Regions from separate parts of the Homo sapiens genome. Here all the other regions are linked to region 3. Evidence: promoter capture Hi-C in 16 types of primary human blood cells and fetal thymus (Javierre and others, 2016). All regions are on one chromosome and are shown on one strand. The core of a region is centred on a gene start or on the middle of the fragment in contact, and the rest is flanking DNA. Distances in the headings are between cores, read along the strand shown. Region 1 has its middle 3.4 kb from the start of RHAG. Region 2 overlaps C6orf141 (chromosome 6 open reading frame 141). Region 3 holds the start of CD2AP (CD2 associated protein). Region 4 overlaps CRISP2 (cysteine rich secretory protein 2).

Region 1 (3,553 bases), core at 348-2,847, 2.2 Mb before region 3:
CGCCCGGCTAATTTTTTGTATTTTTAGTAGAGACAGGGTTTCACCGTGTTAGCCAAGATGGTCTCAATCTCCTGACCTCGTGATCCACGCGCCTCGGCCTCCCAAAGTGCTGGGATTACAGGAGTGAGCCACCACGCCCGGCCAGTTCTAAAAGTTTTAATTCCCTTTTTATGTTTCAGAAGTTTCTTTGATATTGTCAGTACCTTGAGATCAGTGTGAGCATAAGTTATCTCACATAGAAAAACAGTATGGGGTATATGAGATATCTTGCTACAAGCAATTATGTAGCCATATAAATAAATAAATAATAAATGGTTATAAAAAGAAAAACAATATGGTATAGCTGAAAGAAGTTAAATTTAGGAAATTGGGCAAACCTGTATTCATTATGGCTCTGCCATCTACCCGATGTGCAACTTTGAACGAGTTGCTGAAACTCTCTGAGCCTCAAGCTTATCATCTCTCTATAGAGTTCTCTTTTAACTTGGACGAGTTAGTTTTGTTGTCTTTGCTAAAGATTACTTCAGAGGCGCTCTAGCTCTTCTTCTGCAAAGTTAATCACATGAAAAGTGAAAAATCAACTTGTCTAAAGAATACAGGGGCCTCCTGGGAAGATTTTAACTGATATTCTTCAACATCTCCCTGGAATTCAGAGTTAACACAATTCATAGACATAAACTAATATGTCCGTGAGAATTACCAGGGGCAAGAAATGATAGGAAGCCTCCTGAGACTGAATAAAAAGAGAAATAAAGCTGTTGGCCATAGTTAAAACAGGCATTTTTAACCTGGAGTTCTATAAATATAATTCAGATGGTCCATATATTTAAATAGGGAAACAACAGTGCATTTAACTGAAATGTAACATTTTTTCTATTGTGAATGTAGAAAATAAACAACAGCATCATTAATAGTATTGATAACTGCCACTAATATAAATCACAAATAATTTTCTCTCTTTTACTTTTTTCAGATATCTCAAAATATTATTTACACTCATTACTTCAACTTGGAAATTATGCTCATTATTAGACATGCCACAAGATTTATTTCATCCATTATAGAGAAGCACCTATATCAGACAGTTGGGTATAGGTGCTTCTTTTATATTACAGTATTTTGATCGGTGTATTTCAATAGAACTGGTTTCCTTGGTAATCCAATGTATTTTATTTTGTGCATTTAAAATCTATTTTGATATGGGATTCAGAGGCTTGTGCCAAAAGTGTCCATAGCACAAAAATGTTAAGGGTCCCTAGCTTAAGGTAAGTTCCAAAGCCTTGGGCAGCTGCTTTGGAAATGCTAGTGCTGATTTCTCTGGTCCCGTAACCCTGCTCAATTCCAGTGTTCTGTGAAATAATGCTGAGTGCCACCAGGTAGCTGAAAAGAAAGCCCTAGGGGAGGGCACAGGGCCATCCACCATAGATCCGAGAAGTTGCAAAGAACCTTTATGGGAAGAAAGACCTTTTCTTTCACCAGATCCCCTATGGCAGCAAGAAATGTTTGTGTCTGCTCCTCACTTGGGAAGAGAAGTTGGACTGGCCATCCTATTAGACTAAATAAAACCCATGGTCTCTTTTTGGAAGGAAAACATTAAAGAAGCACAAAAAGAGAGTCACTGGACCTCATACCAGTATGGCAGTTGGGTGCTTAAGTAGCTACACATATAAACCAACGGAACAAGTTATGTTTGCAAAGTATAAAAATATATCAAATTGCAGGCCAGGCACAGTGGCTCACACCTGTAATCCCAGCACTTTGGGAGGCCAAGGTGGGTGGATTACCTGAGATCAGGAGTTTGAGACCAGCCTGCCCAACATGGTGAAACCCCGCCTCTACTGAAAATACAAATATTAGCTGGATGTGGTGGTGCACGCCTGTAATCCCAGCTACTCAGGTGGCTGAGGCAGGATAATCACTTGAACCTGGGAGGTGGAGGTTGCAGTGAGCCAAGATCGCGCCATTGCACTCCAGCCTGGGCAACAGAGCAAGACTCCGTCTCAAAAAAATAATAATAATATATGTGTGTGTGTATAAAATTGCAGTGGGACTAAACAAGGTGGGTAAATAGCCACCTAACACAGTGTCCAGAACAGAAAATGCTTAAGGTATTTTAGTACCTTCATCTTCCTAAATACCTCCCACCCTCCCACCACCATTACAAATACACAAAGGTAGAGAGAAAGAGACAGTTTAAAACAGTGGTGGTCCTGTTTCAATTATTCTTTGCTATTAAAAATAAGCAAACTCAAATTAAAATTCCAAATAATAACAATTAGCTACGTTTTACATATATTCAGAAAATAAGGCAAAGAAACTGTTTCTTTCCTAAAGTCACACAGCAAGTTGAGGATCAAAGATCCCTTGTAGCCCACTGGCTCCTGCATTAACCCAGGAATACTTCGTTTGTATCTGTGTATTTAGCTGGGAAGTTGAAGGTTCATTTGCTTGGTGTGTGTTTTATTTTGTTTGGTTTGGTTTGCACAAGAACGTGGCTTACCCATTCATGATTCTTTCCGATTTTACCTCTTTTACTGAAGGCACTAGAAGAAAGCCATCCTGTAGTTTCATAGGCAGACAAGGCAACAGATAAATCATTTCCACTTTAGGACACCCACACCCTCAGCCTATTGTCTTTGTGATTCAGAACTGTCAGGAAAGAGATTTCTAAAAAGCTGTTGAAATCTTCAGGTTCACACTACCATATGTTGGTCTGCCAGGAATTTGGCCCTCCCAAGCTTCATGGCTTGAGCTTGATCCTCCCTTTTGTTCTAGGCGCAGAGAACCTGATGATAAGCCCTCACTGATTGAAATAATGAGAGAGTAGACAGCAGTATGAAAGCTACTGTCAGGATTCTAAATATTTATAATTTAAAATGAAATTTATTAGAGTAAAGCTGTTCCTCTCTCCCTTCCTCACACCGCTGACCTGCCTGCTGAGTGTTTCTCCCTTCAAGTCTGCCCTTAATTCAATTCACTCAAATGATGTTTATCAATTATATATTGTGCTAGACATGGTATTATTCATTCTAGATAACAAATGAGGTGCAAAAGAGACACAGCCCCTGTCCTGGAGCTAACAGGCCAGTAAGGGAAACGGCCATTCTTAAAAATTACATATAAATACAAACACTACATAAATACAGCACACACAGCCAACTGTACTAATTGCAAAGAAAAGACCACAATTCAATGAGAGATAATAGTGGAAACCTGGTTCAAGATGGGAGATCAATGAAGGCTTTTCTGAGGAAGTATCATTTTATCTGAAAACTGAAGAATGATGGATGATGTATATAGGACAGGGAGCAGAGAATATGTGGGAAGATTTCCAGTTACAAAGAGAAGCTTATGTGAAGAACTGAACAAGAGAAATAATTTCCCAGATGGTAGACAATGCAGCTTATTTCAATACAAATGTCTACATTCAGAATAAGGCAAAAAATCTGAATTCCTCGAAGTTGAACAGGCTGAAGTCAAGTGCTGGCATAGTCCCATCACCTATATGAGTAAAATCCTCTACTCCCCATGTGTTGAGTGGTTGCTGAGCTGC
Region 2 (3,136 bases), core at 185-2,684, 2.1 Mb before region 3:
AAGATTTCTCAGGCTCTTCAAATAACAGGGTTCTGCTTGGATCAGGAACACCTGTGAAGCAAATTCAACAGTATTTGGACTTACTACTTTTTGTTTCCAATGAAAAGGAACTCTATATTAAATGAAATCTATAAACATGTTCTAGGCAGTTAATAGGGAAGTTGAGTAAGCACTTTAAAAATAAATTTTCATTGCTTGAAACAGTGAGAAAAGGAAAAAAAAAATCACTTAAAATTAACTCAAACAGGCCGGGCATGGTGGCTCAGGCCTGTAATCCCACCACTTTGGGAGGCCGAGGCGGGCGCATCACAAGGTCAAGGAGATCGAGATCATCCTGGCTAACACGGTGAAACCCCGTCTCTACTAAAAATACAAAAAAACTAGCCAGGCATGGTGGCGGGCGCATGTAGTCCCAGCTACTCAGGAGGCTGAGGCAGGAGAATGGTGTGAACATGGGAGGCGGAGCTTGGAGTGAGCAGAGATCGTGCCACTGCACTCCAGCCTGGGCGACAGAGCAAGACTCTGTCTCAAAAACAAAACAAAATTAACTCAAACATATTTGGTTTAAAGGAGTTAAGCTAACTTGACTAAATACGTTTTTGGCTGAAAGACAAAATGAAAACAAATTGTGTCTATTCTGCTTTTCTAGACAACAGGGCATCAGATTTAAAATCCCAGAGGGAAAACAAACTAACCTGACAGGTCAAAGAAAGTATTCAAAGCTCCCATCTGCCCAGAACTAGGAGGTATGTAAACTCTTTTCAGTGACTGTTAAGGATAGTGTACCTTAGTCCTTTGAGCTTTACCATGAGTCCCTACAGAAGATGTGAAGGTCATTTCTAAAGAATTTAAGAAATATACTTACTGATCCATTAAAGGTTAGGAAAAGCTAGAAATAAGTCCTTTCTTTCAGGAGTAGAGAAGAGTCTTATTAAAAACCACCGGCTTGACTTTCATTAGCTTTCTTGTGTTATACAATTTCTGCTTTTTGTTACTAAACAAAAGACTAAAGCCTAGTTAGGATGAAAAGTGAACTAAACAATAACCGTGCTAATAATAAAAAATGTAACTAACTTTGAGGATTTATTGTATGACAGGCAGGGTTCTAAGTATTTTCATTTAACTTAACCCTAAAAAAAAAAAACCCTCTATGAAGTTGATACTATTTATTGTCCCCACTTAACAAATCAGGATACAGAGGCACACAGAGATAAGGCAACTTGCCCAAGGACACAAGTTAATAAAGAGGTAGAGCCAGTTTTGAACCCAAGCAGCTGAACGCCAGAAATTGCCTCCAGAGAAGGCAGCTGAGTGATGCTACTTACCATTTTTGGTTATTGTGAAAGAGACTTTTTTTGTTCTCTATATTCAATGATTAGTCACCTGGGACATGTGATGATTCAACCAAATTAATAAGCTCAGGTCTGAAACTTACATGCCAAGTAAGTTAATCTCCCACTGGAGTCAGGGAGGGTTGTTAAGGAAAAGAGATTCATTTTAAGGGATGAATCTTTTCTACCTGTCAAGCAATTTTGAACACAGATGAGCTCAGATGCTGAATTCCTCTCCCAAGTGAGGGTCTCACAGGCCTAAGAACTGCTAGTGATGATTCTCCAGCCAAGAGGCCTTGCAGAATTCAGGAACATTAAGGTGATTCTAGTACTTCTCATAAACATGAGTTAGAAAACCTAAGATATTGGCCAGGCATGGTGGCTCATACCTGTAATCCCAGCACTTTGGGAGGCGGAGGCAGGAGGATCACCTGAGGTTGGGAGTTCAAGACCAGCCTGGCCAACATGGAGAAACCCCATCTCTACTAAAAATACAGAATTAGCCGGGGTGATGGCACATGCCTGTAATCCCAGCTACTGAGGAGGCTGAGGTAGGAGCATCGCTTGAACCCTGGAGGTAGAGGTTGTGGTGAGCCAAGATCGTGCCGTTGCACTGCAGTCTGGGCAACAAGAGAGAAACTCTGTCTCAAAAAAAAGAAAAAAATAGAAAAAGAAAGAAAACCTAGGATATCCTCAGGCATCTTTTGACCCCTAAGTAAGGGTCAAATAAATCCTCTAAAGGCTGCCCCAAACCTTTAGGAGGGAGATTATCACATTCTTCATCCACTTAGTAAGCATATGCAATTACTAGCTGTGTGACTTAGACATGCTACAAGACCTCTAGGCCTAGGTTGGCTCATGAGTAAAACAGGGGCATCTTATCTATCTGGCCTGCCAGGAGGCAAGAGGTAGATCAGATGATCTTTTGAGAACACTTCAAGCTCTAAACTAAAAATGAAGGCAAAAGGGAAGACTGGGGAAGGAGGCACTTTTCAACTATTTGCTCATCAAAAGCCAGAGTCCTACCTGCTTTGTTAATTCTTGCAGTAAATACTCCTTCAGGTGGTAAAGTCAAGCAGTTCACCTGGAGAGGGCTGCTTTGCTCCTCACAGAGCTTCAACCAGGCCAACTACTAAAGAGTTAATTCACATAGTATTTAATAATAAAGAGGAACAAACAAAATAAGAAAAATTAGTTGTTTCAGTATTACCAGAGGAGATTTTTTTGAACTACACAAGGAGAATGGTATCTTCAATCTATTCTTGACTACAAGTCTCATTAATGAAGAACTATGGAAAAGAATAAGACATGCATTCATTTTATGGCAAACTACATATTGCTATCTACCTTTAGTTCAGAACATTTACATGCAGTATTTTTAATATTAAAATTAAAATGTATGATAAATGCATGTTTACAGGACTAAATTAGCTATTGTTTGCAGTAAAGCCTTTGTAAATGGAATTTCACGTTGAAATCTTAGTCTTCTGTCCCCAACTCCTTCTTTCCCTAGCTCCTCTCGTTTTCTTTCTAACACTGAAATGTGGGGGAGAAAAATGAAAAGTGCACATCAGAAGAGAGTCACTTGCTGCTTTGGTTTTACTTTCCCATTTCTTTTTACTTTCTGTTTTTGGCTTTTAAAACAAGCCTCTTCTCCACCCACTCCCACCCTCTTTGCAGAGAGCAGACTTCAAACTTCACTTCTGTTTCTAGGTCCTAAAGAGAAACAAGAGGGGGGCGGGGAACAGAAAAGAGATCAATTGAGAGTTATTCCAAAATGCAAATTAACAACAGGTTTTCTCATT
Region 3 (3,427 bases), core at 639-3,138:
TAATTAACTTTAGTATTATCTTAATCCAAAGCAGTTAAAGTGATTTTATAATTTCATACTTAAAAGAATATGCCCACAATTGCCCTGCAAGCTCAACTAATCAATTATAAAATAATTCATTTGAAAATTCCAAATAGCAAATGTTTTATTTCACTGTTTTTGAGCTCAAGAGCACTTTTGAGTATGAAAGTTACCTGAAAGGAGGGAGGTGGAGAAGGGAACATAAAATTAGAAAAGTCTAAGAAAACAGAGGATAGCTAGGCGAGTGTCTATAAACAATATGCTCAAAACATCCCCCACAAAGCAAAGTGTGGACAGAGGGTGCCACATCAGCAGTAGTCTGTATTCGTCCTGCTTCTAAATCATTTGTTAATTACATGAATTATTCATTTCGGTGATCGTTTGTTGATATGAAGCAGTACCAACTCTCAACTGCAAAAAGTGATAGGGTCCTCCTGATTTGCTCTACAAAAATCAAACTTGGGTTTACTCTTACAGAACACGTTCTGCCTTATAGAGACACAGGGTGTTTTGTTTTTTGTAAGCTATTCTTAAGTTGCTTTTAATTTTTAAAGGATTGAGGGAGTTAGTTTAATGCCTAGCCCACACCGAACTTTGTTATCAAAAGAAATTGTTACACCACTTAACAAAACTCCTTTTCAACCCGGACTGCCACACATTCTGCCTTCTCTAACTTCAAACAAAACTATAAAGCACATAGTAAATAACATATAAGGCCTTGTATTTTTCTCTCCTCCGGCAAGGAAGTCTAACTCCAAACAGGAAACTGCTCCTCAAAGGATCCAACACTGAAGTCCAAACCCAGTCCTCGGGAGCACACTGAATGCTTAGGTGCCAACACACTTGCCTAGGTAGAACCCGAGTAAAACAAATACTCAAGCTTTCCTGTCCTTGAGGCACCCCTTGCGAGTTTCAGCAGGAAAAAAAAAAAGTTTTTGAACAAATTTATCTCTCTCCTTAAACGTATTCAAAGCCTCGCAGAAAATAAAGAAGTTGAAAGTGCTACTTTATCAAGTTTTTCGATCGCCCTCCCCCATCCCACGAGGAGGGGGAGGGAAGCAAGGGGATGAGGAAGGGAAGGAAGGTCAGGTCTGATTTTAGCTGGGCAAGGGGTTAGCAGAGGTGGCCAGGCGCCCCCGCCCCCCATCCCGCACCTTTCTGGTGAACAGGAAAAGAGGCGGAGAAGGGAGAGCGAGGGAAAGCACCCGCGAGCTCTCCCACCAGTTTCTCCGTGAGAAGAGCAAGGTGGAAGGCAGGGCAAGAAGGGGCGGTGGGGAGAATGGAGAGGGTGGGGTGCTGCCGCTCAGGGGCTGACCGCAGTCGCCTCCCCAGAAGGCCGAGAAAGGGCACAGCCTCCCCGGGTCTGGAAGGTCCGGACGGGCGGCGGGAAGCGCCCGAGTCTCTTACCCATGCTGGGGGCTCCCGCGGGGAGAAGCCGACGTCCGCTCCTCCTCCTCCTCCTCCAGTGGTGGCTCGCGCGGCCGCTCCCGCGGCTGGAGGCGGGACCCGCGCTCCGCGCTAGCCCCTCCTGAGCTCAGGCGGGGCGAAGAGTCGCCTCCATCCGCCCGCGGCGCTCTCCTACCAGTCTCTTCAGCGCGGCCCTCGAGGCAGAGGCAAAGGCGGCGACAGCTCCTCACCCCTGGCCTCCCCAGGAGCCACGGCGGCGGGAGGGCCCTACCCCGCCCGCCCGACCGCGGTTTTCCCACCCTGGCCGCTCCCGCAGTGGGGAGGGACCCACCGGTTTGCCCAGACCCTCGGCTCCAACCCCGAGCGCCCGCCTAGCCTCGGAGCCCGCCCCTCGCCTCTTCCTTAGCACTCGCAGTTAGAAAAGGCGACACCGTAGACTAAGGTGGGGACCCAGACAGAGGCCGAGAAGGTGCGGGGAGCTGGGACCGGGAGGAGGCAAATCTCGCGAGAACGCCCTCGTTCTCCCCGCCCCACCCCGCCCCGTCGCGTTCGGGCTCTCTCCCGGTCCCCACGGCTGCTGCCAGGTGCGGTGACGTCACGGCCGGGGGTCGCGCGCCGACCGCGTCCAGGTGCAGCGAGCGGATGAGGAAGCGGTGCAGAGGAGCTTGGGCTCGCTCTCCCCCCGGAGGCTCGGAACAGCTTGGGCGGGCGTTTGGTCTGGTTTGTCGCCTCAGATGGATCAAAAGGTTTCTGCTGATAGGCAAAGTTGCCCCACTTTCCGCGGCGGCGACGCGGAGTTACTTTCTGCAGCGAAGCAGCCTCGAGGACCTTAAAGGGAAAAGGCGGACAGAAGGAGGGCGAGCGCACTTGATTTCGACCTTTAAGGGAGGCCCAGATGCTGCCAGGCCCCTCAGTTTACCTTGCGAAGTTACTTACGGATCAGCAGCATTTGGTCTTCGTCGGGTGAGGGAGAAACCTAGGCATCAAATAAATTCTGTTTCACAGATTCCTTTAGTCTCTTGTCAGCTGAATGCAACTTTATAATTTGCTTTTTTTCTTTTTAAAGTATAATTTGAGTTGTTACTTGATCGAGAGAAAAATAGGCATCATGATTTGAAATACTGCCAGGCATTTTTTCTAGCGTCAATGTGAAGGAGGGCATAGGATTACTATAGTCAGTCAAACATGAGCTTGGTAGTTACGAAGAAGTATAATTATTTCAGCAAGCTTTTTTTCCCCCTTCTGTTTAAGTAGACCCAATTCCAGGGCAGATGTGTGTGTGAGCGTTTGTTGAACGCCAACTATTGTGCCTAGTGCTTTTTCAAGAAATTTTGTAATTCTCAGTCATCCAGCACTGAAACTGACTTGCCCTTTGGATCCAGGCAGACATGGGTCCTTGAAACTCAGCACAGCCATTTACTTTTTGTGGGACCTTGGATAAATTAACCTGTCTGAACTTCAATTTCTTGAGTATGTTCAAACAAATCTTGCAATGCAGAGCACAGTGGCCCATAGTAGTAACCTTGGACGTATCCATTACCACTATTTCCTATAGGCCTGCTTTTGCCATCTTTTAATTCTTCTAATGCTTCTCAAAAGGTTACATGTGGTAATTTTATAACAAGAATGATCAAACTCACAAACAGCAGCCAAAAAGGATAAAAGAAAAAAGTTGAATATACTCACCTAAACAAGATTACATTGACATCATGGAACATGTGCCTTTTTTAGGTAACAAATATGTGTTCAGCATTATGTTCGTTGTCCCCTACCAAGCAAAAAAATAAAAAGCTAAAGTACAGCGCTAATCCTCAGAGATTTTGCATTCTTCTAGGGGGGTGAGATACGAACACAAAGTTAATTAACAGTATGAGGTAGTGAGGGTCAAATGCTTGAGAATTTAAAGGAAAATAAATTACTGTGGGCAAAGCAAGCTGTAAAGAGAAGGTATGAGTTGAACGAAAGCTTGGGGAAGGCAATAATTCAGTCTGGAGGAGTC
Region 4 (3,660 bases), core at 601-3,100, 2.2 Mb before region 3:
ATTACACTTTTTGTTAATTCTCTTTTCTGGTTTACAATCAAGAAATCCCCCTTCCTTCAGGATATGTGTCAGCTGTTGTGAGTAAAAGCCCACTTCCCAGGGCACAGTCCCTGAAAGACTGGTATCTCCGATATGAAAGCAATGGCTTACATATGAAAACAAATGGAATTGGAAATAACGTTGGCCATCTTATTACTATTAAAATATAATTAGAATATTTCACATGCTTATCAATATTTAGACTAGCATCATTAATAAATATCCTAGGTATGGCTGCTTTGCTATCATAAATAATCACATATTATTGTCTTATTTTGCTTTTTAGATATATTACCTATGGACTACCCATCATGTGTAAACTGGCACCAGAAGAGATAAAAACACTTAAAAACATTTTAATAACAGTAGTATTAGAGAATACATCTACAGAAATTTTAAAGTATTTACAAATCAGATTATAAAGTGTATGTTTCATTGTGGCTGAATCATTAAGTGTATTTTGTTTTCTTGTGACGTTTAGGAATGGAGCAGAGAGGTAACAACGAATGCCCAAAGGTGGGCAAACAAGTGCACTTTACAACATAGTGATCCAGAGGACCGCAAAACCAGTATGTAAATTAGTAAATATTTGTTGAATAAATAAATGAATAAAATAATAATAGAGCATTGTAGGATGCTCTATAATAAGAAGACTTTGAAAATAAATGTTACTTATACTGCTGTCTTTTTGAAGTCAAAGTATCTGTATACAGAGGGGTATTTACAATAAGAACAATTTTGTGTTTTTTTATTGTGTACATTATGCAAATAATTTTGCTTCTTGCAACCAGCTCATGAGTACAGCAGATTTTATATCATCTTTCTTTTTGTAAGTTTAAAGATTAGAAAGCCAGAATTTGAAAGAAAAGTGACTTACCCAAGAACATAATCTGAAACAGTGTCATACTAGAAATTTTTAACCAAGCTTTCTGATTTCTAACCCACTGCCCTTTTTGTTAATTTATGTAGCTGTCTGATGTTTTGAAATCTATTTTTTGTATCCATAAAATATATTGAACTTATGATGAATTATTCCTAAGTTTTGCTCTAAAGTGGATAAAAGTGGATAAAGTGGATTTAAATTTATCGTATTCAAAATTTCTATAAAAATGAATATTTTTGAATATATTAATATATTAATTTTTAATATCAGACTAGCAAGTATTTTGTGTGGACTGGATACCTACAATGCACAGAATACTATATTCGAGTTTTAAAAAGACATATCAAGGATTATAAAAACTAGTAAATGCCCAAATAATTTATGAAGTGTTTCTGGGCTGTAAGGCACTTCTTGACAAACTCACAAGGATTTCAGCTTGTGATATCTGATTTCCTGGTTAAGAGAAAACCCATAAATTTTGAAAACTGTTATCCTTCCTGGTGTCAGTTTTCTCTTGATTGGGACTCTTAAAGACAGCCTATAAAGTCTTTTTTTCAGATTTCACACAAAGTCTTATACATTTATTTGGGGTCCTATATTTGAAAAATCTCTGTTGAGGGTTACTAGAGCAGAAAACAGAATATAAGAGTTGGTCACTGCCTTTAGCAAGCTTACCATATACAGCTGGGAACACTCAAGGCATACACATGTGGAAAATTTAGCATGCAAGGGCATTTTTAAGGAGCAGAGTGTTAACCTACTCAAAGTTTTATGTGGTCAGGCCAACCTCAGTGTGTCAGGCAGTTAAGTGTTCTAATCAGCTTTATAGCTGATAAGGAACTGAGGCACTCCTTTATGTATTAATCAACAGTTAGCATCTGCTGGACCCTGGGTTTGAAAGGCAACATCTTTGTGTTTGTGTAGTCAATTTCTTTTACCATTGCATGTTTATTACCTTGCTCATGAATGATCTGCCCCTTAGGTACAAGATGTGGTGAGAATCTCTATATGTCAAGTGACCCTACTTCCTGGTCTTCTGCAATCCAAAGCTGGTATGACGAGATCCTAGATTTTGTCTATGGTGTAGGACCAAAGAGTCCCAATGCAGTTGTTGGACATTATACTCAGGTAAGAAGAATGCATGAAAATACCTATGTCACAGATGTTCTAATAGAGGAAAGCTTCTCCAAATTATGACCACTGTAATGTTCAATTTAGGAGAACAGTCCGAGTGGGTAGAATACAGTCTTGGCATTTGGCTGTTGTAGAGCTGTCATTTTTGTCCATGGTCAGCCAAACTCTTAGTAGGAAAGCAGACTCTGTATTGTTCCTACATTATAAATTTTAAAGTGATGAATGTACATGAAAATTAAATATTTTTAAAGTTTATGACTTTGGTTCAATAATTTAAATATTTTTATGGTATATGTCTATAAAACTAACATTTTTCAGTTTTATATTTGCTACTTTTTTAAATATTTTTCATCTTCTCTAATGTACTTTTATATATTTATTCCATTGTTAATTTGCAGCTTGTTTGGTACTCGACTTACCAGGTAGGCTGTGGAATTGCCTACTGTCCCAATCAAGATAGTCTAAAATACTACTATGTTTGCCAATATTGTCCTGCGTAAGTAGACTGTTTAGAGTTTAATGGCAATAATTCTATCTGCAATTTATTTTTTAATAATTCTCATATCTTAAACCAGAATGAAAACATATCTCAATAAAAGGGAGGGGATAAACGTTTGGAAATGTTTTTTAAGGTTGAGACACTTTCAACTTCTCAGAGGAGAACAACTTCTCACTTTCAGGTATAAAAACTGAAGCTCTCATTCCTCATTAACAGAATAATGTCTTTTCTTTCAATTGGCCTTCCCTCAGCTTAGGGTTACTCTGTGAGCATGTGTAATATGTATTTCTCTAGAATTGGTATCATCACATCTTGCTAATTTCATACTCTAGGAGTATAGATGCTTTAGGGTGCTGGTGAGATTGCAAATGGAAGATGGATTGTGATTTTGGCCCTTTCTGCTCAAATATTCCTACTTCTGCTTATGTAAAACACACACACACACACACCACCACACACAATTACCATTACAAATTATTCATTCATTTGGATTTCAATGGCTTTTCAGGACATCTTTATTTCAGAATACAGAAAAGATAACATCTTAAGTCTCTGATTCTCAGAATTGTTCACAGAAAGCTCTTTAACCATCTTGTAAGGTTTGATTTGTAGCAGTAAACATGCTTCTTCATTAAACAATATGTTTAGAGTTATCCACAATAAATCCTATGGATATTTTAAGAAGATATTCACAATATCAAATTTAGTGTTTGAAATTCTTTACTACTGGAGGCTGCGGTGGGGGGCACAGCTACAGGATTTGTTTCGAGACTGTAGATAGCGAAGATGATGTACGATTCCAGTTTGAGAAGTATAACCTCCAAAGTCATTTTCTTTAAAGTACCTATTAGGATTCAAGTAGAGAGAATTGAAAGGCCCTGGGAGAATGTATCCAAACTCACTTACTGGCCCTCAGAGGGAAGCATCAGCAGCCAGGTGTCAGAAGTGACAGTTGGAATAGATCATGAGGGAAGCCAAGGGAACTAGAACTTTTAAAATCCTTTTATATCTGTTTCACAATTTTCCAAGAGCTCATACACACACAGCTATATTCTAGGCAAAGAGACTGAGATTCAGCTGCACTTCCTTGGGTCCTTACCCCACT

Evidence for each region. The method cuts DNA at HindIII sites, captures the fragments that hold promoters and counts their contacts. A CHiCAGO score of 5 or more calls a contact.
Region 1: a contact is called between a fragment that was not itself captured here and the fragment with the promoter of CD2AP in region 3, in 1 of 17 cell types (erythroblasts). The highest score is 9.4, in erythroblasts.
Region 2: a fragment that was not itself captured here is called in contact with the fragment with the promoter of CD2AP in region 3 in 1 of 17 cell types (endothelial precursors); the score reaches 7.2 in endothelial precursors.
Region 4: a fragment that was not itself captured here is called in contact with the fragment with the promoter of CD2AP in region 3 in 1 of 17 cell types (erythroblasts); the score reaches 11.4 in erythroblasts.

What each region holds. Positions count from the first base shown.
Region 1 is chr6:49,638,478-49,642,030 of GRCh38, reverse strand. No RefSeq gene overlaps it. Among named protein-coding and RNA genes, the nearest start is that of RHAG, 3.4 kb to the right of the region's middle. The HindIII fragment of the contact is 2,286 bases long and covers 455-2,740 here.
Region 2 is chr6:49,551,792-49,554,927 of GRCh38, reverse strand. C6orf141 (chromosome 6 open reading frame 141) reads right to left here. Exons shown (of 1, transcript NM_001145652.2): 1 at 2,833-3,136. Among named protein-coding and RNA genes, the nearest start is that of C6orf141, 2.7 kb to the right of the region's middle. RefSeq lists an enhancer at 2,940-3,136. The HindIII fragment of the contact is 5,833 bases long and covers 1-3,136 here.
Region 3 is chr6:47,476,250-47,479,676 of GRCh38, reverse strand. CD2AP (CD2 associated protein) reads right to left here and starts at 1,888. Exons shown (of 18, transcript NM_012120.3): 1 at 1,429-1,888. The coding sequence starts at 1,432. CD2AP-DT (CD2AP divergent transcript) reads left to right here and starts at 1,605. Exons shown (of 1, transcript NR_187257.1): 1 at 1,605-2,434. RefSeq lists an enhancer at 604-1,330 and a silencer at 1,617-2,126. The HindIII fragment of the contact is 1,754 bases long and covers 904-2,657 here.
Region 4 is chr6:49,696,752-49,700,411 of GRCh38, reverse strand. CRISP2 (cysteine rich secretory protein 2) reads left to right here. Exons shown (of 10, transcript NM_003296.4): 6 at 521-608; 7 at 1,905-2,050; 8 at 2,455-2,552. Among named protein-coding and RNA genes, the nearest start is that of CRISP2, 15 kb to the left of the region's middle. The HindIII fragment of the contact is 511 bases long and covers 1,595-2,105 here.